2 separate regions of the Homo sapiens genome follow, and region 2 is linked to region 1. The links are contacts of gene promoters, found by promoter capture Hi-C in blood cells and fetal thymus (Javierre and others, 2016). All regions are on one chromosome and are shown on one strand. Each heading gives the region's core, a stretch centred on a gene start or on the middle of the fragment in contact. The rest is flanking DNA. Distances are from core to core; before and after follow the strand shown. Region 1 holds the start of ACRBP (acrosin binding protein). Region 2 holds the start of LRRC23 (leucine rich repeat containing 23).

Region 1 (4,313 bases), core at 517-3,016:
AATTTTTTGTATTTTTAGTAGAGACAGGGTTTCACCGTGTTAGCTAGGATGGTCTTGATCTCCTGACCTCGTGATCTGCCTGCCTTGGTCTCCCAAAGTGCTAGGATTACAGGCATGAGCCATCGCACCGGCCAAGTTTCACCATTTTGGCCAGGCTGGTCTCAAACTCCTGGCCTCAAGAGATCCACCCTCCTTGGCCTCCCAAAGTGCTGGAATTCCAGGAATGAGCCACAGTGCCTGGTCTCTATTTTATTAATTTATTTTATTTTATTTTATTTTTGAGACAGGGTCTCACTTTGTCACCCAGGCTGGAGCACAGTGGTGAGATCTCAGCTCACTGCAGCCTTGACCTCTGAAGACTCAGGTGATCCTCCTACCTCAGCCTCCCCAAGTAGTAAGTGGGACAACAGGCGCACACCACCACACCTGACAATTTTTGTATTTTTTGTAGAGACAGGGTTTCGCCATGTTGCCCAGGCTGGTCTGGAACTCCTGGGCTCAAGGAATCCACCCGCCTTGACTTCCCAAATGCTGGGATTACAGGCGTGAGCCACCAAGTCTGGCCCAAGACAATTTCTTGTTTTATTTTTCTTTTTTACTTTTGCTTTTGGGTGGGGACAGGGTCTCACTTTGTCACCCAGGCTGGAGAGCAGTGGCCCGATTGCACCTCACTGCAGCCTTGGCCTCATGGGCTCAAGCGATCCTCCCATCTCAGCCCCCCAAGAAACTGGGACTACAGGCACGTGCCACCACGCTTGGCTAATTTTTTGTACTTTTTGTAGAGACGAGGTTTCGCCCTGTTGCCCAGGCTGGAATTTCTCATTTTAAACACAAAACAGATACAAAAGCAAAAGTTCTCCTCCCATACCTCAGTGGACTGTCTTACTCGATTCTCCCTTGGAAACCACTTTCGTAGACCACTGAGCCACCCTCTTGTTTTCCCCTTGGACCCATTTTGCTCATGGAGGCGCCCTGTCTAGTTCCTACCCAGATAGGCCTTGACTTGGTTTTGCACATTCTATCTCTGCCTGCGCTTAGCTCTAGACCTCACGACCTGTTTGTTGGGCGAGTTGCTTCCCTAAGCCCCGATTTCTCATCTGTAAAACGAATGATAGTGTATCTACCTTATGGGATTCCTATGGCAATTACGTAAGGTAGTGCATGTAAAGATGCTAAGTGGCTGGCTACGGTGGCTCACACCTGTAATCCCAGCACTTTGGGAGGCCGAGGTGGGCAGATCATTTGAAGTCAGGAGTTCAAGACCAGCCTGGCCAACATGGTGAAACCCAGTCTCTACTAAAAATACAAAAATTAGGCCGGGCATGGTGGCTCACGCCTGTAATCCCAGCACTTTGGGAGGCCGAGGTGGGCGGATCACAAGGTCAAGAGATCGAGACCATCTGGCCAGCATGGTGAAATACCATCTCTACTAAAAATACAAAAATTAGCTGGGCGTGGTGGCGTGCACCTATAGTCCCAGCTACTCGGGAGGCTGAGGCAGGAGAATCACTTGAACCTGGGACGCCGAGGTTGTAGTGAGCCGAGATCGCACCACTGCACTCCAGCCTGGGCGACAGAGTAGGACTCCGTCTCAAAAAAAAAAGAAAAAGACGCTAAGTGAAGGTAGCTGTTTGCCATTCCTACCATCTGGATGGGCTCTGGCCACTTTAGGGCCCTGAGAGCCCGGCTGTCGAGGCCCCGCCCCGGCCCGCTCTTTGTGACGCGTGGGCGGTGCCCGCGTGCGCCCCGCCCCGCGCCTGCGGCTCTCTCTGCGGCTTGGCCCGTTAGAGGCGGCTTGTGTCCACGGGACGCGGGCGGATCTTCTCCGGCCATGAGGAAGCCAGCCGCTGGCTTCCTTCCCTCACTCCTGAAGGGTGAGAGGTTTACACCTGCTCCAACAGACTCTCCCCGGGCTAGTCCTCTCCCTCCCGAGAGCTCTGCTTTTACGGTTTCTGGATCGCTTCCTCATGGTGGTCGCGCTGGGTCGGCTCCCTAGGTCCTGGGATACTCCCATCTCCCCCCGCCCGCGGCCGGACCTTTGCCTCTGTCTCTAGACTCCCCCCGCCCTGGTCAGCAGGGATAACCCTCACCCCGTTCCTAATTTGCCAGTCTGGGTCTGTCTGTCCTGGTCTCGGAGCGGGTTTTGGGGTTCGGTCCTTCCATCATCCGTTCGCCCGCTCCGCAGTGCTGCTCCTGCCTCTGGCACCTGCCGCAGCCCAGGATTCGACTCAGGCCTCCACTCCAGGCAGCCCTCTCTCTCCTACCGAATACGAACGCTTCTTCGCACTGCTGACTCCAACCTGGAAGGCAGAGACTACCTGCCGTCTCCGTGCAACCCACGGCTGCCGGAATCCCACACTCGTCCAGCTGGACCAATATGAAAACCACGGCTTAGTGCCCGATGGTGAGGGCCAGACTAGGGGGGAAACCGAGGCACCCAGAGTGTTCACCCAAACCTCAGGGCAAAAACCCCTGTGCTCATGTGAGGCGGGGAAGGGCATGGCTGGCACCACACCATGAGCTCGTACTCTCCACCCTCCCCATGGCGTGGAGTCCATTGCCCACAGCCCCACCCCAAGCTCCCCACGGGTTCATCTTCTCCACCCCTGCCCTTTCTCAGGTGCTGTCTGCTCCAACCTCCCTTATGCCTCCTGGTTTGAGTCTTTCTGCCAGTTCACTCACTACCGTTGCTCCAACCACGTCTACTATGCCAAGGTGAGGCCCAGGACAAAGGTTGGATTTGGTGCCCCAGGGCCAAGGGAGAGGCGGCAGCAGTGGGGAGTTGAGGAAGGGTTCCAGGAGAGTCATCCTTAGCTCCTCCTTCCCTGCCATTTTGCCAGTCATTTACCCAGATTATATATGAATACAGTCTCACCTTGGATATTCAGATTGAACAATTCTGTTACTGCAAGAAAAGTAGAGAAGAGACTGGGCATGGTGGCTCATGCCTGTAATCTCAGCACTTTGGGAGCCCGAGATGGGCAGATCACCTGAAGTCAGGAGTTCGAGACCAGCCTGGCCAACATGGTGAAACCCCGTTTCTACTAAAAATACAAAAAAAAAAAAAAAAAATAGCCGGGCTTGGTGATGGGCGCCTGTAATCCCAGCTACTCGGGAGGCTGAGGCAGGAGAATTGCTTGAACCCGGGAGGCAAAGGTTGCAGTAAGCCGAGATCATGCCACTGCACCCTATCCTGAGTGGCAGAGCAAGACTGTGTCTCAAAAAAAAACAACAACAGGGACGAGTGCGGTGGCTCACGCCTGTAATCCCAGCACTTTGGGAGGCCGAGGCAGGCAGATCATGAGGTCAGGAGATCGAGACCATCCTGGCTAACACGGTGAAACTCTGTCTCTACTAAAAATACAAAAAATTAGCTGGGCGTGGTGGCAGGCGCCTGTAGTCCCAGCTACTCGAGAGACTGAGGCAGGAGAATGGCGTGAACCCGGGAGGTGGGGCTTGCAGTGAGCCGAGATCGCGCCACTGCACTCCAGCCTGGGTGACAGAGTGAGACTCCGTCTCAAAAAAAAAAAACAAAAAAAACAAACCCAAAACCCAAACAAAAAGAAGTAGGGAAGAGGGATGGGAAGAGGCAAAGAGATAAGCCCTTACGTTTCTTCGAACAGGTCAGTGATTTTGAGTCAAATGCAAAAGTGACGGCAGGGATGTGGCCCAGACAAACAGAGATTCATCTTCTGAAGGGACCCTTTCTCAGGTCTAGAGGGTTCCAGCAGGGACCATGTCCCTTTATCCCTGCCTAGAAACTGAGAGATAAGACATGCTGGAAAAGGGGTTGAAGAACCAGCTGGAGCAGAAGTCTGCCCTTTAGGAAAGGCTTTCCCATTTTCCTTCTCTTCCTGCAGAGAGTCCTGTGTTCCCAGCCAGTCTCTATTCTCTCACCTAACACTCTCAAGGAGATAGAAGCTTCAGCTGAAGTCTCACCCACCACGATGACCTCCCCCATCTCACCCCACTTCACAGGTGAGACCCTCTCAGCAGCCGGGAGACCACCAGCTACTCCCACAACTCCCAGAGCCCACAACGTAAGGCATCCATGGCAGGGAAATGGGAAGCATGTTGGGCGGGAAGGGGGCGCCAGCAGACAGCTGTTTACACAAAGGAGTGTCAGCTTTTTATGAATACAAGTTAGGGCTCTCCTGGACCAGAATCTCTTCTGCCATTACTTACAATTTTGCCCTGAATCCATTTTTCCCAATTCCAGAGACATTGTTGCATTACAAAGGACCTCTAGGCCCTTTATAAGCTAATGTCTTCACTTTAGAAAGGATTGACTGCTAGCTACTCAGCATACTTGG
Region 2 (4,313 bases), core at 1-2,500, 260 kb before region 1:
TTTCCACTAGGCATGAGAAGAGTCAAACTCTCAACCAGAACACCCAGGAATGACAGTGGGAAAGGAGATAGGGGCCCTACAGTCTCACAGTCCTCATCTGGTCCCCCCAAAACGCACCTCTCTTTAACCTCCAGCTTGACATAAGCATGAGCCAGCCCATTGCCTGTCTTACAGAGCAGAGAAAGCCCTTCCTTCATCATGTCCTCCGTGAGGGGGGTGGGCAGCCACTGCAGGTAGAAGTGGAGTAAGGTGTCTCTCCCCTGCCCAACCCCCTCCTTCAGCCCTAGGACCCCTCCTTGTCCAGGCTCTCACTTCCTCAGGGAACTCTTCCCCCTCTTTTCTGTAGTCCTCCCCCTCCTCTGTCTCCTTCTCGTCCTCTTCTTTCTCAGAATCATCCTGGTCTGGCTCAGAGTCTTCTAGATCATCTTCATCTGACATCTTTCTTCCCTCCTGAAAGCTCTGGAGTCAGATAAGCTCAGTCCTCCTCCTGAAAAAGAAGGTCTCATCAGCTTCTGCCAGCCTTCAGCTCCTTCATCGTCATTGACACGTGCCACTCCCATCACCCCCATGACTTCTGACCCACCAACTCTAGGCTTCTTTCCTTATCCCTGTGAACATCTCATTTTGATTCTCAACTCCCACTTCACACTTTCCACTGAGGACCCCCTCCCTTCAGGATGTCACCCACACCCCCAGGCCTTTCCTGTCCTTCACAGTGACTCCAGCTCTCCTCCAGCAGCCGGGTGTCCCTATTTCCTGGGCTTCCCTCTCCCCCATTCTTCCCACCTCCCCCTTAAGCCATGCTCTCCAATCTTCCCTACCAATTCCTCCTCCTCTCCTCTCAGCTCCCATTGCGCCATCCGTAATCCCTGCTCCATTCATTTCTTCTACTTTTCCCTCCCCACTGGGCCAATTTCCTTGGGCCCTCTGGTACACCAGCCTAAAGCGCAGTCTCCAACCCTCCCACTCAATTCGCCTTAGCAAAGGGGCTCAGACCCTGTTTCTGCTCAATCAGAAGCAGTTCTGGAGAGGCCCTTGGTCCCGAGAGGGAAGGACTGTTTAGCAAGCGGGCGAGGGGAAGGAGGGGTTGTGTACTGCTGTTATGGCAACGGGGACGGGGCACTTGGCAACTGCAGCTCGCCACCGTTGAGAGTAGAGCGGCGACTACCTGATGCGCAAATCAGCCGGGGAGGGGATTGATCAGTAGTTGCCTGGTTACCACGCCACTTTCCCGTCCCGGGAACCCGGATGAGGCGCGGAAGGGGCGTTGGGCCGCTAATTGGCTGAGGACAAAAAGAAGTGGGCAGGGCTGAGAAGCGAGAAGAGAGGGGGCGGGGCTAGTCATTACGTCACCCAAGACCTTAAAGGGACCGGACATCTTCAATGCAAAAGTATTGTGAATTCAGGAAAAACTCGTCCTTCGAAGCAAAAAGGGCGGGGCTGCGAGGAAAAGCAAGAAACACCAAGATAAGGGGTCTTTTCCCCTTCCCCCTATAGTTTCTGCTCATTAGTTATTTTCAGGTAGACCTTTGGAAGGTGGCTTGGTGGAGCGGAAGGAGTCCAGACCCAGATACCTTAAGAACTGGGTTGGAGTCTTGGCAGATCTGCATTTGCTAGCTAAACGTACCCAAGACTCTTTGTTATCTGTAGAATTAGCTTAACTATATCAACTGACAGGGATCCAGTATGAGTTATCCTGGACTGGTTTGATGCAAACCTTTTAGTGGGTGGAAGGCAGAAAATTCAACATCTGCCCACTAAAATACTCCTGATCCAACGTTGTTATATCAGTAATCAACAGGAACTGGCATAGCCAAACCCAGGCACTCAGGCCTGTCTGACATGTTGAAGGAGATGAAAAAGATGTTGAGATGCAATAAATATTTCTGGAGAGTTTGTGCGAGACATTATGTCAAACATCTTTACAACTGATATTTAATCTCTGCAACAGTCCTGTAAGATAGACATTTGAAAGAAGAGGATACTGAGGCTCAGGGAGGTTAAGATGACACAATTCCTGCCTGGGGAAAGGGGGATGTTACCAATCTTGTTGTGGAATCTAATGTAAATGAAACAATGAGGTAACCAGGTAAGATGGCATGTGATTCATTGTTAAATTGTGCCCACAGACTTTATATAACGGCAAAGTGGTCTGGTGGAAGATGTGGTGGGCAAGAAATCAGGAAGTATTATATTACCTCCTGCCCAGGGCAGCTTGGAGGAATGTGGTTAATAGGCAAATCTGTTTACTTGGTGTCATGGAACCAGTAGGGACTTTAAAGTCAGAGACACCAGCTTCAAAACCCATCTCTACTACTTAATACCTGTGTGTCCTTCAGCAGGTTATGAAATCTTACTGAGGTCTAATTTCCACAGTCGTGAAATGGGGATTATTAAAACGTCCACCTGTAAGGATTGTTAAGGGATTAAAAGAGATAATGTGGGTAAATCGCCTTGCACTTAGTTGACCCTTAGTAAACATTTTCCTGCTCCTCCCCACCCCTGGCCTGTGTCCTTGGTACTGGGGTTGCTGTGAGGAAAAAGAAATAATAAATATGAACACTCTGAAGAGTGAGATGTGCTATACAAATGAAAGTTATTGTATTGTTGGAGTGTGGAGAAGGGAAAAATCCATGTGGTTTGATGTAGTCAAAAGAAATGGATATGAGTTTCCTTGGCCAAGAAGAAAGAGGAAGACACATTAGATGGGAAGAAAAGTTGTGATGTAAGGGTTAGGAAGGTGTCCTTGAACATACACTTTTGTTATTTTGTTTTTATTTTTGTTTTGAAATAGAGTTTCCCTCTGTCGCCCAGGATGGAGTGCGGTGGAGCAATCATAGCTCACTGCAACGTCCACCTCCTGGGCTCAAGCAGTCCTTCCGTCTCAGCCTCCTGGGTACCTGGGACTACAGGTGTGCGCCACCATGCCAAGTTAATTTTTTTGTATTTTTTGTAGAGACAAGGTTTTGCTATGTTGCCCAGGCTAGTCTCAAACTCCTGGGCTCAAGCAATCCGCCCGCCTCGGCCTTCCAAAGTGCTGGGATTATAGGCATGAGCCACTGCGCCCTGCCATGCTTTTGTTAAGCACTTAATCTGTCCCTGTGCTCCGGGACAGTAAAGCACAGAAGTCCTTATCTTTTATCTTCAAGAGGTGTACAGTTCAGTGACAAGATTAAGTACACAAGTAATTCAATATAATGAGACATGTTATAATAATCATACCCAACATTTATAGAGCTTTTACTAAGTGCTAGGGATCATTGTATAGTATATGCATATACATGATATCATATATTCGGGGCAGAGATTTCAGAGGCAGGAATCACCTGTGGTAATGCTTGGAGAAGAAAGAGCTCAATGCCTGTGCAAAGAAAGCAGGTGGTTCTGCTGGCTGGAACAGTAGGTGCAGTCGGGGGTTGGAATATGGTAGAAGCAGTAAACAGACTTGGATCACACTGAAGGATCTGGACTTTATCCTGAAAGCTGTGGGGAGCTATTGAAGGTTTTATTTCGTGTTTAGTTGGCAAGGACTGAAGTTACACTGTGTAATGAGAGCTAGATACTCCACAACATCCTTGATATTTTTCCCCCATCGGCTGGTCTAGATAGAGTCTCTTTCAATTATAAAAGTAATATTTAGGCTGGGCGTGGTGGCTCACGCCTGTAATCCCAGCATTTTGGGAGGCCTAGGCGGGTGGATCACCTGAGGTCAGGAGTTTGAGACCAGTCTGGCCAATATGGTGAAACCCCGTCTCTACATACAAAAAATTAGCTGGGGTGGTGGCTCGCACCTGTAATCCCAGCTACTCGGGAGGCTGAGACAGCAGAATCGCTTTAATACAGGAGGCCTAGGTTGCAGTGAGCTGAGATCGCGCCACTGCACTCCAGCCTGGGCAACAAGAGTGAAACTCCGTCTCAAAAAAAGAAAAAAAATTAGCCAGGCGTTGTGGCTTGTGCCTGTAGTTTCAGCTACTTGGGAGGCTGAGACACGAGAATCACTTGAACCCGGGAGGCAGAGGTTGCAGTGAGCCGAGATCACGCTACTGCACTCCAGCCTGGGCAACAGATCGAGACTCTGTCTAAAAAAAAAAAAAAGCCAGGCGCTTTGGCTCACACCTATCATCTCAGCACTCTGGGAGGCCAAGGTGGGCGGATCACCTGAGGTCAGGAGTTTAACACCAGCCTGGCCAACATGGCGAAACCCTGTCTCTACTGAAAATACAAAAATTCGCCGGGCGTGGTGGCGGGCGTTTGTTATCCCAGCTACTCCGGAGGCGGAGGCAGGAGAATCGCTTGAACCTGGGAGGCGGAGA

Evidence for each region. Contacts are between HindIII fragments. The CHiCAGO score rates a contact against its expected background, and 5 or more counts as called.
Region 2: the fragment with the promoter of LRRC23 here is called in contact with the fragment with the promoter of ACRBP in region 1 in 14 of 17 cell types (activated CD4 T cells, non-activated CD4 T cells, monocytes and 11 more); the score reaches 13.7 in activated CD4 T cells.

The regions. Positions count from the first base shown.
Region 1 is chr12:6,644,885-6,649,197 of GRCh38, reverse strand. ACRBP (acrosin binding protein) reads left to right here and starts at 1,766. Exons shown (of 10, transcript NM_032489.3): 1 at 1,766-1,874; 2 at 2,186-2,404; 3 at 2,621-2,715; 4 at 3,861-3,978. The coding sequence starts at 1,832. RefSeq lists enhancers at 1,839-1,908, 1,832-2,345. The HindIII fragment of the contact is 16,958 bases long and covers 1-3,923 here.
Region 2 is chr12:6,901,759-6,906,071 of GRCh38, reverse strand. It overlaps LRRC23 (leucine rich repeat containing 23), which reads right to left and starts at 1,250. Exons shown (of 8, transcript NM_001135217.2): 1 at 997-1,250; 2 at 313-487; 3 at 118-227. The coding sequence starts at 438. The HindIII fragment of the contact is 20,869 bases long and covers 1-4,313 here.